Linked DNA regions of Homo sapiens: all the other regions are linked to region 3. The links are contacts of gene promoters, found by promoter capture Hi-C in blood cells and fetal thymus (Javierre and others, 2016). All regions are on one chromosome and are shown on one strand. The core of a region is centred on a gene start or on the middle of the fragment in contact, and the rest is flanking DNA. Distances in the headings are between cores, read along the strand shown.

Evidence for each region. Contacts are between HindIII fragments. The CHiCAGO score rates a contact against its expected background, and 5 or more counts as called.
Region 1: the fragment with the promoter of INPP5E here is called in contact with the fragment with the promoter of ENTPD8 in region 3 in 1 of 17 cell types (total CD4 T cells); the score reaches 7.4 in total CD4 T cells.
Region 2: a contact is called between the fragment with the promoter of PMPCA here and the fragment with the promoter of ENTPD8 in region 3, in 1 of 17 cell types (erythroblasts). The highest score is 5.6, in erythroblasts.

The regions. Positions count from the first base shown.
Region 1 is chr9:136,437,431-136,441,343 of GRCh38, reverse strand. INPP5E (inositol polyphosphate-5-phosphatase E) reads left to right here and starts at 1,499. Exons shown (of 10, transcript NM_019892.6): 1 at 1,499-2,736. The coding sequence starts at 1,925. It overlaps SEC16A (SEC16 homolog A, endoplasmic reticulum export factor), which reads left to right. Exons shown (of 32, transcript NM_014866.2): 32 at 1-1,239. RefSeq lists silencers at 1,341-1,540, 1,591-1,770, 1,831-2,320 and enhancers at 1,393-2,026, 2,027-2,661, 2,611-2,720, 2,662-3,295. The HindIII fragment of the contact is 4,062 bases long and covers 1,156-3,913 here.
Region 2 is chr9:136,407,697-136,411,944 of GRCh38, reverse strand. PMPCA (peptidase, mitochondrial processing subunit alpha) reads right to left here and starts at 1,287. Exons shown (of 13, transcript NM_015160.3): 1 at 1,206-1,287. The coding sequence starts at 1,276. It overlaps ENTR1 (endosome associated trafficking regulator 1), which reads left to right and starts at 1,331. Exons shown (of 10, transcript NM_001039707.2): 1 at 1,331-1,617; 2 at 1,706-1,855; 3 at 2,878-2,946; 4 at 4,007-4,119. The coding sequence starts at 1,548. RefSeq lists enhancers at 1,049-1,098, 1,129-1,218, 2,069-2,228 and silencers at 1,429-1,518, 1,659-1,708. The HindIII fragment of the contact is 5,612 bases long and covers 440-4,248 here.
Region 3 is chr9:137,438,936-137,442,606 of GRCh38, reverse strand. It overlaps ENTPD8 (ectonucleoside triphosphate diphosphohydrolase 8), which reads left to right and starts at 1,250. Exons shown (of 10, transcript NM_001033113.2): 1 at 1,250-1,321. RefSeq lists a silencer at 1,096-1,390. The HindIII fragment of the contact is 13,084 bases long and covers 429-3,671 here.

The DNA of each region.
Region 1 (3,913 bases), core at 250-2,749, 1.0 Mb after region 3:
AGTCCCGCGCTTCCTTTAAGGTGCTGGGAGCAAAGAGAGGGTGACTGAGGCAGACCCCAACCCCTGCTCTGCACCATCTGGGCCCTCGCCGTGTTTGAACCTGGCTGAATGAGTGGAGGGCGCTGTGTTCTCAATCAGCGCCTCCGAGGAGCCGTGGGGTTCCTTCGGCATTAGTTCACGGTTTTTGAGAGAGGCCTTAGTTACTGCAGTGAATTTCTTTCCTGTTGCAAAGACGCTTCCAGCCTCACTTTACTTTCTGTGGCCTGATGAGGACCATGGGTGATTTTGTGTACCCAAAGCGCTGGGGACTGCCCACCGTGTGGCCCAGTCACTGGGAAGGAGCCCCAGAGAGCCGGCTGTCTGACATGATGGCTCAGGGTGGTCATCCAGGTTGAAAACTGACCGTGTGATGTTTGATTTGGGCTTCATTTCGTGTGTAGGAGCACGGTTAGACTCACTGTTAAGGAAGCTGGATGCACTTCTCTAAAAGGCTGCACTTTCCGTGAGCACTTTTCGTGGTACAATCCACATGACCCACTTTCTCCCCTGGGGGACGTTGGTTCAGAGGTTGGTAGCACTTGGGGAGAGTATCTTAACACAGTTTCTTGACAGCAGCTCTGGAACTTAGTATTTCTGCCCCGAGTTTTGCCACACTGAGACTTTGAGTAGCTCCTGGTGGACTCAACCCTGTTCAACTCAGAGACGGGCCTCCTCTCACTGATGCAAAGCTTTAAGGCTTCTCTGACTGTTCTGAAACTCTTCGTATTCTTGTCAAGTCTAAAGAGACTGAAGAAAAGATTTAAATACTAATAAAAATCAGTAGATAATTTCTGTAGGTTCTGCTGGAGGAATACAAACTGTTTGGTGTTTTAAATTTAAGTGTAGAAATTGTAGAATGTGGAATTAGCACAGATCCTTCCTGGCTTTCTGTTTCACTTGATCATTTAGCCCAGACCACCCAGGATGTTTTCCAAAATGTTCCACAGGCGTGTCCCGCTGGATCCATTTGTCCTTGTCACTTGGAGAAAGGCCAGTCCCTGTGACGGGGCAGCCCTCTCTGTCCCTCGGTCAGCTCGTGTGAATCCTGGGACCTCTTCCGGTCGGCTCTGCCCGCTGTTCTGGGGTCGACTGCCACGACTTTTGATTCAAGAAGCTTCCTCCAGGCGGGAGCGGCTATTTTTCCTAAATGAGAATTGTTACATTGCAAATTGTTGAATAAAATATTTTGCGCTCCTTCAAGCACCTTCACCTGTGGTTCCCTTTGGTTTGCTGGAAGCGAGTGAGTGCAGGTGTCCGCAGGCCTCGGCGCTGTCCTGGACCGCACCCAGGTCCTCTCCGGGGACCTGCACCTGCCTCGCTGGGACCTGCCGGACTGCGGGGCTGCCGGGTTGGGAGGGGCGTGGGAGACCCGTCCGGGTCCGGTGCGGCGCAGTCCTCCGGCCGCCAGGGGCCGCTGTGGGCGGGGCCGGGGCGCGGGGCGGGGACCGGGCGCGGCCCCGCGGCGGCGGTTGCTGGGTCCCGGCCGGGCTGACTCCGCTTCTGGGCGGCCGGGCCTCCGCGAGTACCGGGTCGACTTCGGAGTCTGCGAGCCCAGCCAGGGGTGCCCGCTTCCCACCCCTCTCCCCGAGCGGCGTCCCCGTCGGGGTCGAACCTCCCCCGCGACAGGCGCCCAGCCGCCTGTTCCCCCAGGCCTTGCCTGCGGACCGCCCTGGGAACGGCGTCTGGGAGCCCCGAGGGGCTGGCGGGACTCGGGGCCCGGGCCATGCGGCAGCCGCCCCCGCCCCTCCGCGACCATCCCCGGCCCAAGCGGGAGCCGCAGCGGCGTTTCTGCTCCTCGCTGCGCCGGCGACCCCGGACCCGGCACCCGTGACCCCTCGCGCTGCCTGCGGCCTCGCGCCGAGGCCTGCCCCGGGAGAGACCGTCCATGCCGTCCAAGGCGGAGAATCTGCGGCCCTCCGAGCCGGCCCCGCAGCCGCCGGAAGGGAGGACGCTCCAAGGACAGCTTCCCGGCGCTCCGCCGGCCCAGCGCGCGGGGTCCCCACCCGATGCTCCGGGCTCCGAGAGCCCCGCGCTTGCCTGCAGCACTCCGGCCACGCCCAGCGGCGAGGACCCGCCAGCCCGAGCAGCACCCATCGCCCCGCGGCCCCCCGCCAGGCCTCGACTGGAGCGAGCCCTGTCCCTGGACGACAAGGGCTGGAGGAGGAGGCGTTTTCGAGGCAGCCAGGAGGACCTGGAAGCCCGGAATGGGACCAGTCCCTCCAGGGGCTCAGTGCAGAGCGAGGGCCCCGGGGCCCCCGCCCACAGCTGCTCCCCGCCCTGCCTGAGCACCTCCTTGCAGGAAATCCCCAAGTCCCGCGGGGTCCTGAGCAGTGAGAGAGGGAGCCCGTCCTCGGGGGGTAACCCTCTCTCTGGGGTGGCCAGCAGCTCCCCGAACCTCCCGCACAGAGACGCCGCCGTGGCGGGGAGCTCGCCCAGGCTGCCCAGCCTGCTGCCCCCGCGCCCACCGCCTGCCCTGAGCCTGGACATCGCCTCCGACTCCCTGAGGACAGCAAACAAGGTCGACTCGGATCTTGCAGACTACAAGCTCCGCGCGCAGCCGCTCCTGGTGCGGGCCCACAGCAGCCTGGGCCCCGGCCGGCCGCGGAGCCCCCTGGCCTGCGACGACTGTTCCCTTCGCTCGGCCAAATCCTCCTTCAGCCTCCTGGCGCCCATCCGCAGCAAGGACGTCCGCAGCAGGTAGGGAGGGCCTGGCGGGTGCAGCGCCCGCGCCGCCTTCGTTGTAGTGTTCAGGCTGCTGGAACCTCGTGAGACCGTTCCCATCAGCAGCGTTTAAGATGCCTAACCGGAAAGAACGAAGCGGGTCTCCCGCAGCCACCCCATCTCCCAGCCCCACCCCACAGCAGCGCCCTTCCCAGAACTTTTCCTGTGCGTTTCAGAACCATTCGTGGGCGTGACGTTGTGTTAAGGTAGACAGGATGGCATCCTGCATACAATTACGTATCTGGCGCTTTTTCTTGTTTAGTCTTGGGAAATGTCGTCAATGTATACGATCCGCCCCTTTGGTTGTTTTTGTTTGTTACTCTCTCTGTCGCCCAGGCTGGAGTGCAGCGGCGCGATCCCGGCTCACTGCAACCTCTGCCTCCTGGGTTCAAGGGATCCTCCTGCCGCAGCCTCCTGAGAATCTGGGATTACAGGCGCCCGCCACCACACCCAGCTAAATTTTGTATTTTTAGTAGGGGCGGGGTTTCGCCGTGTTGGCGAGGCTGGTCTCGAACTCCTGGCCTCGGCCTCCCAAAGTGCTGGGATTCCCGGCGTGGGCCACTGCGCCCGGCCTGCCCCCTTTGTTTTTTTCTGCGGCAAGAGGCCCCAGATGTGTTGAGGCTACTTTCGTTTAGCCACTTGCTCATGAGGAACATTTTGGTGGGCTCCAGCTGTTGCTGGAAGGAACTGCAGCTGAACCCATGACCTCTCCCAAGCCTGGTCTTGTCTTGGGGTCTCAGTCTGGGGGCCTGTCCTGAGATGCTCCCACTATGACTTGGCAGAGTCACCTGCACCCTTCTTTTCCTCCCCCCACCCCACTGCCATGGTGCCCAAGTCTTGTCTGTCAGCCGCGGCGGGAGGCAGGACAGGTGTGAGAAGGGAGAGGTGTGAGGTGGTTTCTGTGTTGGTGTCCTGGGGCCGTTGTAACTCATGACCACAGACTGGGAGGCTTGCAACAGCAGAGCTGGACTCTCTCCCAGTTCTAGAGGCCAGAAGTCTAAAATCAAGGTGTGGCCACGCAGCCTCTCTCCAGAGGCTCAGGGGAGGGTCCTCCCGCTGCCTCCCGCTCCTGGGGCCCCACTTGTTCCTTGGCTTGTGGCCGCATGCTCCAGTCTCTGCCTCTGTCTTTATGTGGCCTCTTCCCTGTCTCTCT
Region 2 (4,248 bases), core at 38-2,537, 1.0 Mb after region 3:
GATGACCTGTTAGGTGCGGTTAGTTATGTTTTGTCTGGGTTAAAAGTGAGCATCTGCCTTTCTACAGGACTTATTTCTACAGACTTTGGAAGACAAAGCAGAGGCTGACAACAAAGGCTCAGCCACGGGACCTGGAGCAAGCTGGTTCCGTCCTTTGGGTCTTAGTTGCTATCTCTGTAAAAACAGGGCTTATTAACAGTAACTCACTCTAAGTGCAGTTTGTACACATAAAGCACTTAACAGCTCTGCCCTCCAACAGCACCACCGAAGTCTTGGATAAAAGCCATATCCCTTATTAACCTGGTCCGAAGGCGGGGTGTGACTTGGCCTCTGTCTCCCTCTCCAAACTCATCTCTTGAACCCCCACACTCCCATAGGTCCTGGTCACACTGATTCTTGTCAATTCCTGGAACACATTTGACTCATCAACCCCAAAGCTTCTTCACCGTTCCAGGGCTTGCCCTTTGCCCATGCCTACCCCTTCTTTCATTCTTCAGCTCTTCCCTTAAATGTCACCCTGATGGAGGACTATCCCTCACCAGTCTAGTCTTTCCTGCTATTTTCTATCATGAAAGGCTGCTTGTTTACTCCAAAGCATTTACGCGACTGCCGATATTTTGTTTACGCTCCAGCCTGTATCCATCTCCTGGAGGCAGCACCTCCGCACCCCTGAAACGGCGCTCGTTGTGTGGGGAGGGGCGACGCCTGTGCTGTCGGAACAAAGTTCCAGCGTGGGGAAAGGCAGGCCCGGTCACTTGGGTGGGAGGAGCGGTGGGTACGGAAAGGGTTCTTAAACGTCAGAGATCAACGGACAGACCGCAGCAACCGAGAGCCTGGACCCTGGTGTCAGAACCCTGCGGGTCTAACAGAGCTGGGCCCCCACCGGCTCAGCCTCCTGAAGGAGCACGCGGTAGGTGAAGCGCGGGGGCAAATATGAGGCATGGCCTCGGAGAAGGCCCGTCGACCCGGGAAGTGAGGGGGGGAGAGGACCCAGCAGCCGGGGAGAGGAGAGACAGATGGGACTGCGTCCCCGGGCTCGAGGCGCAAAGCAAGGCAGGGCCCCCGTCGCCTCGGGGACACCAGTGTCCCGAAGTGCGAGCCCGTCCCACGGGCGCCATGTCACCTGTAGAAACCGAAGACGGAGCGTCCAGAAAGACTCGAGCCGCCCCCGCCCCAGGCCGAAGCCTGGTTCGCCTTTGGCTCACCTCAGCCGCGAACAGCCCCAAGAACCCGAGCCCCGCAGCAACCGCGTCGCCGCCAGCACCACAGCCGCCATCTTGCGTCTCCGCCCCGCTTCAGTCGTCACTTCCGCTTCCGCCCACGGCTTCCCCTCCCCCTCGCCGACGGCCCAAGGCGTTCAGGCACGCGCTTTCGGTGCTCGGAGCGGAAGCAGCGGCGAGAGGCTCGGAGGCGCGGGGGCGGCCGAGCGGCGGGCGACGGGGGCGGGCGACGGGGGCGGGCGACGCGGGCCGCGGCACGGGCGGAGCCGGGGCCATGGAGCCGCCGCTGCCGGGCTAGGCAGGTCGTGCCCCGCCGGGCCGGCGGCGATGTCGGGCTACCAGCGCCGCCCGGGCGCCACCCCGCTGTCCCGAGCCCGGAGCCTCGCCATTCCCGACGGTGAGCGGGGCAGGGGCCGAGTCCAGCGGTCCAGGTGGGCGGCGGCCGCCCCGGCACGCAGTAAAGTCGCTGTTGTCGTTGCTTCCAGCTCCAGCGTTCTATGAGCGCCGGTCTTGTCTCCCCCAGCTAAATTGTGAGCGCCCCCATGGCAGGGACCTGGACTCCCCCTTCTTCGGCATTCGGCCGGCCTTTATGTGCTATGTGCCCAGCCCGGTGCTGGCTTCCGTGGGAGACACAGGTGAGAGACGAGGGCGCCGGCCCCGGGGACGCTTCCAGTTCCCGCGCCACGTGTGGCACCTCCGCTGCAGCACGAGCTCGTCCATTGACCCATCAATGTGCAGAGCGCTCACTGCGTGCCAGGCACTCGGAATTCAAAGGCGGAGTCCCCTGCTAGGAGCTCACAGTCTGGTTGCGGGGAGACCTCCCCCAAGACAGACAGTTCCAGTACAGGATGGTTAGTGCCCGGGGAGCACAGGAGCCCGCCCGCTTTCCTCGTGGGGCTGGAGTCGGGGTGCCTTCACCTAGTGGGCAGTGATTGGAAACCGAGCTGGAGCATTCCATCTGCCTCCACAGCCGGGCAGTGGCCAGATCTGGTTCGTCCTCGTTCTACCCAAGCAGAAGTGCTGCTGGGTGCCCGGGGTGTGCAGGAGTGTTTGTGTGGTTATGCCAGGATCTGAGGACATTCGGGGGTTGTCACAAGACAAGAGGACGCGCTTGCCCCGGCTGGGCTTCAAAATCTGCTGAGGAGCCGCTTTCAGACCACGGACACCAGGGCCAGTCTGCAAGTCAGGCCATCTCCAGGGTCACAAGTCTGGGAGCTTGTGTTTTTTTTAAAGTTTTCTCGGCTGACCGGGCGCAGTGGCTTACGCCTGTAATCCCAGCACTTTGGGAGGCCGAGGCAGGCGGATCATGAGGTCAGGAGATTGAGACCATCCTGGCTAACAGGGTGAAAACCCGTCTCTACAAAAAATACAAAAAAATTAGCCGGGCGTGGTGGCAGGTGCCTGTAGTCCCAGCTACTCGGGAGGATGAGGCAGGAGAATGGCGTGAACCCAGGAGGCGGAGCTTGCAGGGAGCCGAGATCGCACCACTGCACTCCAGCTTGGGCGACAGAGCAAGACTCCGTCTCAAAAAAAAAAAAAAAGTTCTCTAGACTGTGAGAACCACTGCAGTGGAGACTCCATGTGCAAAAGAAAAAAACCAAATGTGAGGTCATAAAGACTTCCTGCCAGCATGGTGGGTGACATTGTTTCTTTGCAGATTTTGGCTATGGAAAGGGGAAATGTTCTAAGCAGAGCCCGTCAGGAGCCCACGGGACACATTTTGGAGGTAGAGTAGTTCAGCAACCTTTTCTTCTTGTCTCCATCCAACACAGTGCCAGGCACGTGTCTGGTGGGACTGTCAATGTGACTGGCTATGTGGTGTAGCTGGAGCCCAAAAGAGCAGGTGGGGGTGGGATTTCAAGGGTTCAGTCTTGATCCTAGAGTAGCAGCGAGGTGACATCAGGGAGCGGGGAAGCCCCACCTGGGGGGCTGGGGCCACAGGAGCCAGCTTTACATGGGGCTCACAGCTGGGAGGGTCGAGTGTGGCTGCTTAAGTCCCCGGAGGGTGGGAAGGCGGTGGCAAGAGGGAGAAGGGAAAAGTGGGCGTTATTTAGGCTACCTAGGTAGGAAAGTCGGGAAGAGGGTCAGGGGGCACTGGGTCCCCAGCGTTGCAGCACCTGAGGAGCTGGTTGTTGTTGTTGTTTTTTGAGACAGAGTCTCGCTCTGTCGCCCAGGCTGGAGTACAGTGGCACGATCTCGGCTCACTGCAAGCTCCACCTCCCAGGTTCACGCCATTCTCCTGCCTCAGCCTCCCGAGTAGCTGGGACTACAGGCGCTCACCACCACGCCTGGCTAATTTTTTGTATTTTTAGTAGAGATGAGGTTTCACCGTGTTAGCCAGGATGGTCTCAGTCTCCTGACCTCGTGATCCGCCCGCCTTGACCTCCCACAGTGCTGGGGTACAGGCGTGAGCCACCACACCTGGCCACCTGAGGAGCTTTGAGAGCTCCTAGCACAGGTTGACCTCACACCAGGGAGCTGGGTGTGTGCAGTGGAGTGGCTTGGGTCGTTTTAAAGCTCCCCAGGGGAGCTTTAGTGAGCAGCACAGTGTGGGAGCAGGGGCCGAGGGGTGGAAGGAGAAGATTGCAAATGCAGACGCACGTCTGTGTCACTGCCCACCTTCAGCCACCTTCACACTTCCTAGTGCTGCCTGAGTCATGGTAGAATGACAAGCGTGGCTGCCCGATCTCACATGTGGCCATGCTCTGGAAAGACAGGTGAACAGGAAGGTTCCCTTTCAACGCTCTTCAGTAGACTTTATGCATTTGTGATGTCTGTTATTTCAGATGACAGATTTGAAGATCTGGAAGAGGCAAATCCATTCTCTTTTAGAGAGTTTCTGAAGACCAAGAACCTCGGCCTCTCGAAAGAGGATCCGGCCAGCAGAATTTATGCAAAGGTAAATCCACGGCACTGTGGGCGATGGCTCTGTGGGACGTTTCTGTTCCGGCCTCTGCAGCCTCCTTTGGAGGAATCGTGCATGAGTGTGGCAGAGCAGGCAGGCGTCAGTGCTGGGGAGCAGCTCTGG
Region 3 (3,671 bases), core at 1-2,500:
TAGCCTGGGTGACAGAGCGAGACTCCATCTCAAAAAAAAAAAAAAAAAAGGACAACTTCCCAGACTCATTTTATAAGCCCAGCATTATCCCCATACAGAAACCAGGACTAAAAAAGAAAACTATGCAACTTTGTTGAACACAACTGCAAAAATCCTCAACAAACACATTTGACTCTTATGACCCATGGCAGCTAGTGTATAAAGTTGCTGCAAACACTGAATTAAAGAATATGCTAAACTATTGCTCCTAAGGGAAATGCAAAGTTCTGTTCCTGCAAGCTTCTGGTCACATTTTTGTTAAATGATCAATATATTAATAAAACCTTCTTTTATGTGTATTTTTGTTTAAGGGCACCTTACTTAATATGTATTGTATCACTAACATTGAACTCATGGCCAACAGCGCTAACTCTTGCACGAATGAAGCTTATCCAATGTGTGTTTTCTCTGTAAAGTGCATCTCAGCCTTCTTGCATTTCTGCACTATGCTGAGACGCCATTATAAACAGTGAAATCACCAAGAAAAAGCACAAAAATGCACACACATGACACCAAATATGCTACCAGTAAAGAGAGTCCCGATTGAGACCCCAAGAGGGTTCTTGGATCTCACACAGAAAGGAATTCACCGCCCCCCCGCATTCCCCCACCCTATTCCCCGCCCCCCAACACCCCCAGCCCCACCCAGCCCGGCCCTGGCTCCGCGCCTCCCCCAGCCCCGCCCCGCTTCAGAGGCCCGGACCCCGACGGCGGCGGCCCCGGGACCCACGGCGAGCGGGAAAGGCAGAGTGGCTGCAAATGGAAAACGACGGGCGCCGCGGGGCTGCAGGCGCTTCCGCCCCCGCCCCGGGCCTGGACCTTCGGGGTCACCTGACTCCGACCTGCCCGGGCCGGGCGGCACGGGGGGTAAAGTCCGGGCCGGGGTCAGGAGCGCGGCTGCGGGCCGTGGGGGGCGGGGTCCCGGAGTTCTGCCCCTCGCAGCTCCAGGCTCCTCCTCAGCTTCCCTCTCCTGCCTCCCACCCCCCCGGGGGCGGGGCGACCCTGGGCACCGAGACAGACCCGCGGGTGGGAGATGCGGGGAGACCCTGGGCGGGGGACCCGAGGGTGGAGTGGGCGGGGCGACCTTGGGCGCTGGCCTCAGCCTGCGGGCCCTGGAGCCAGGTGCACAGCGCATCGCCCGAGGCTGTCACCGCCCTGCCCCGCCCACCCCAGCTGTCCTGGACCCAGGGGCAGGGAGAGGCTGGACGCCAGGTGCGCGGACACAGAAGCGTCTAAGCACAGCTTCCTCCTTGCCGCTCCGGGAAGTGGGCAGCCAGCCCAGGTGAGGGTCCAAAGGGATGTCCTGGGGGGGCTGTCCTGGTCTGGGGGGCTGTCCTGGTCTGGGGGGCTGTCCTGGTCTGGGGGGCTGTCCTGGTCTGGGGGGGCTGTCCTGGTCTGGGGGGCTGTCCTGGTCTGGGGGGGCTGTCCTGGTCTGGGGGACTGTTCTGTCTGAGGGGGTGTCCTGGTCTGGGGGGGCTGTCCTGGTCTGGGGGGCTGTCCTGGTCTGGGGGGCTGTCCTGGTCTGGGGGGCTGTCCTGGTCTGGGGGGGCTGTCCTGGTCTGGGGGGCTGTCCTGGTCTGGGGGGGCTGTCCTGGTCTGGGGGACTGTTCTGTCTGAGGGGGTGTCCTGGTCTGGGGGGGCTGTCCTGGTCTGGGGGGCTGTCCTGGTCTGGGGGGCTGTCCTGGTCTGGGGGGGGCTGTCCTGGTCTGGGGGGCTGTCCTGGTCTGGGGGGGCTGTCCTGGTCTGGGGGGCTGTCCTGGTCTGGGGGGGCTGTCCTGGTCTGGGGGACTGTTCTGTCTGAGGGGGTGTCCTGGTCTGGGGGGGCTGTCCTGGTCTGGGGGGCTGTCCTGGTCTGGGGGGGCTGTCCTGGTCTGGGGGGGGCTGTCCTGGTCTGGGGGGCTGTCCTGGTCTGGGGGGGCTGTCCTGGTCTGGGGGGCTGTCCTGGTCTGGGGGGGCTGTCCTGGTCTGGGGGACTGTTCTGTCTGAGGGGGTGTCCTGGTCTGGGGGGCTCTCCTGGTCTGGGGGGGGCTGTCCTGGTCTGGGGGGCTGTCCTGGTCTGGGGGACTGTTCTGTCTGAGGGGGTGTCCTGGCCTGGGGGGCTCTCCTGGTCTGGGGGGGGGCTGTCCTGGTCTGGGGGGCTGTCCTGGTCTGGGGGGGGCTGTCCTGGTCTGGGGGCTGTCCTGGTCTGGGAATCTGTTCTGTGTGAGGGGGTGTCCTGGTCTGGGGGGCTCTCCTGGTCTGGGGGGGGCTGTCCTGGTCTGGCGGGGGCTGTCCTGGTCTGGGGGGCTGTCCTGGTCTGGGGGGCTGTCCTGATCTGGGAGTCTGTTCTGTGTGAGGGGGTGTCCTGGTCTGGGGGGGCTGTCCTGGTCTCAGGGACTGTTCTGTGTGAGGGGATGTCCTGGCCTGGGGGACTCTCCTGGTCTGGGGGGGCTGTCCTGGTCTGGGGGGGCTGTCCTGGTCTGGGGGGCTGTCCTGGTCTGGGGGGGCTGTCCTGGTCTGGGGGACTGTTCTGTCTGAGGGGGTGTCCTGGTCTGGGGGGCTCTCCTGGTCTGGGGGGGGCTGTCCTGGTCTGGGGGGCTGTCCTGGTCTGGGGGACTGTTCTGTCTGAGGGGGTGTCCTGGTCTGGGGGGCTCTCCTGGTCTGGGGGCACTGTCCTGGTCTCGGGGGGGCTGTTCTGGTCTGGGGGGCGCTTTCCTGGTCTGAGGAGCTGTTCTGATCTGGGAGGCTGTTCTGGTCTTGGGGGTCTTTTGAGTGTGGGAGAGGTTGCCCCAACCTCTTTGCCTACCTGGAGGCTCAGGCCTGGGGGTCTCAGGTGGCTACATCTTCTGGGTGTGGAGTCCCTGTGTTCCTGGCCCCTGTCACCTGTTTGTCCCTATGAGGTGGCCTATGGCCTGGGTGCTGGTTGGGGACACAGGCTGGGCCCTGTCTGGGCTGGACCGGCCTCCTGTCCTCTCTGAGCCTCTGTCATCTACCCTCCTTAAAATGGGCTTATATCCCCCGGACATACAGAATTGCGTGAGGACCCCACAGCGTGTCCCACTTTCCACGTGCCCAGGAGCCCCAGGTCAGGACCAGGGCAGCACCCGCGCCTGCCACTCAGTGTGGGTGCAACGTTTCCCGGGGGAACACGATAGGACACGGTCACATGGGGTTCAGGTGCCGGGACCTTGGCAGGCAGCCTCTGGCTTTGACCACTCCTTTGGCAGTGGTACCCGTGTGAAGTGGGGCTGTATGGGGCACAGGGTCGGCCTGGGGTAGTTTGAGAGCTGAGACCCTTGCTGGGCGTTTGGGCAGAGGAGGAGGTGGACACCTCGGCCACAGGGCTAGAGAAGCCCAGGCCCCTCAGATGGCATCCCTGGGTCCACCTCCCGACCAGGCGCCATCTGGCACCAGCTAAGAAGGTGCAGAGTCAGATTAGGGAAGCCTTGGGCTGGATTTCCAGAGAAACCGATGTTGTTAAGAAGCCTCACACTCGGCTTCCTAGGATGGCTGGCCTCACCCTGGGTTCACCCACAGCCCCTCGGCAACAGTCCCCTCAGGGCTCCAGAGAGAAACCCCCACCCTAGGAGTGCCTGGGGTGGGGGCCGCAGAGAGGAGGCAGAGCCCTGGGCCCCCAGTGCAGGCTGGAGCTG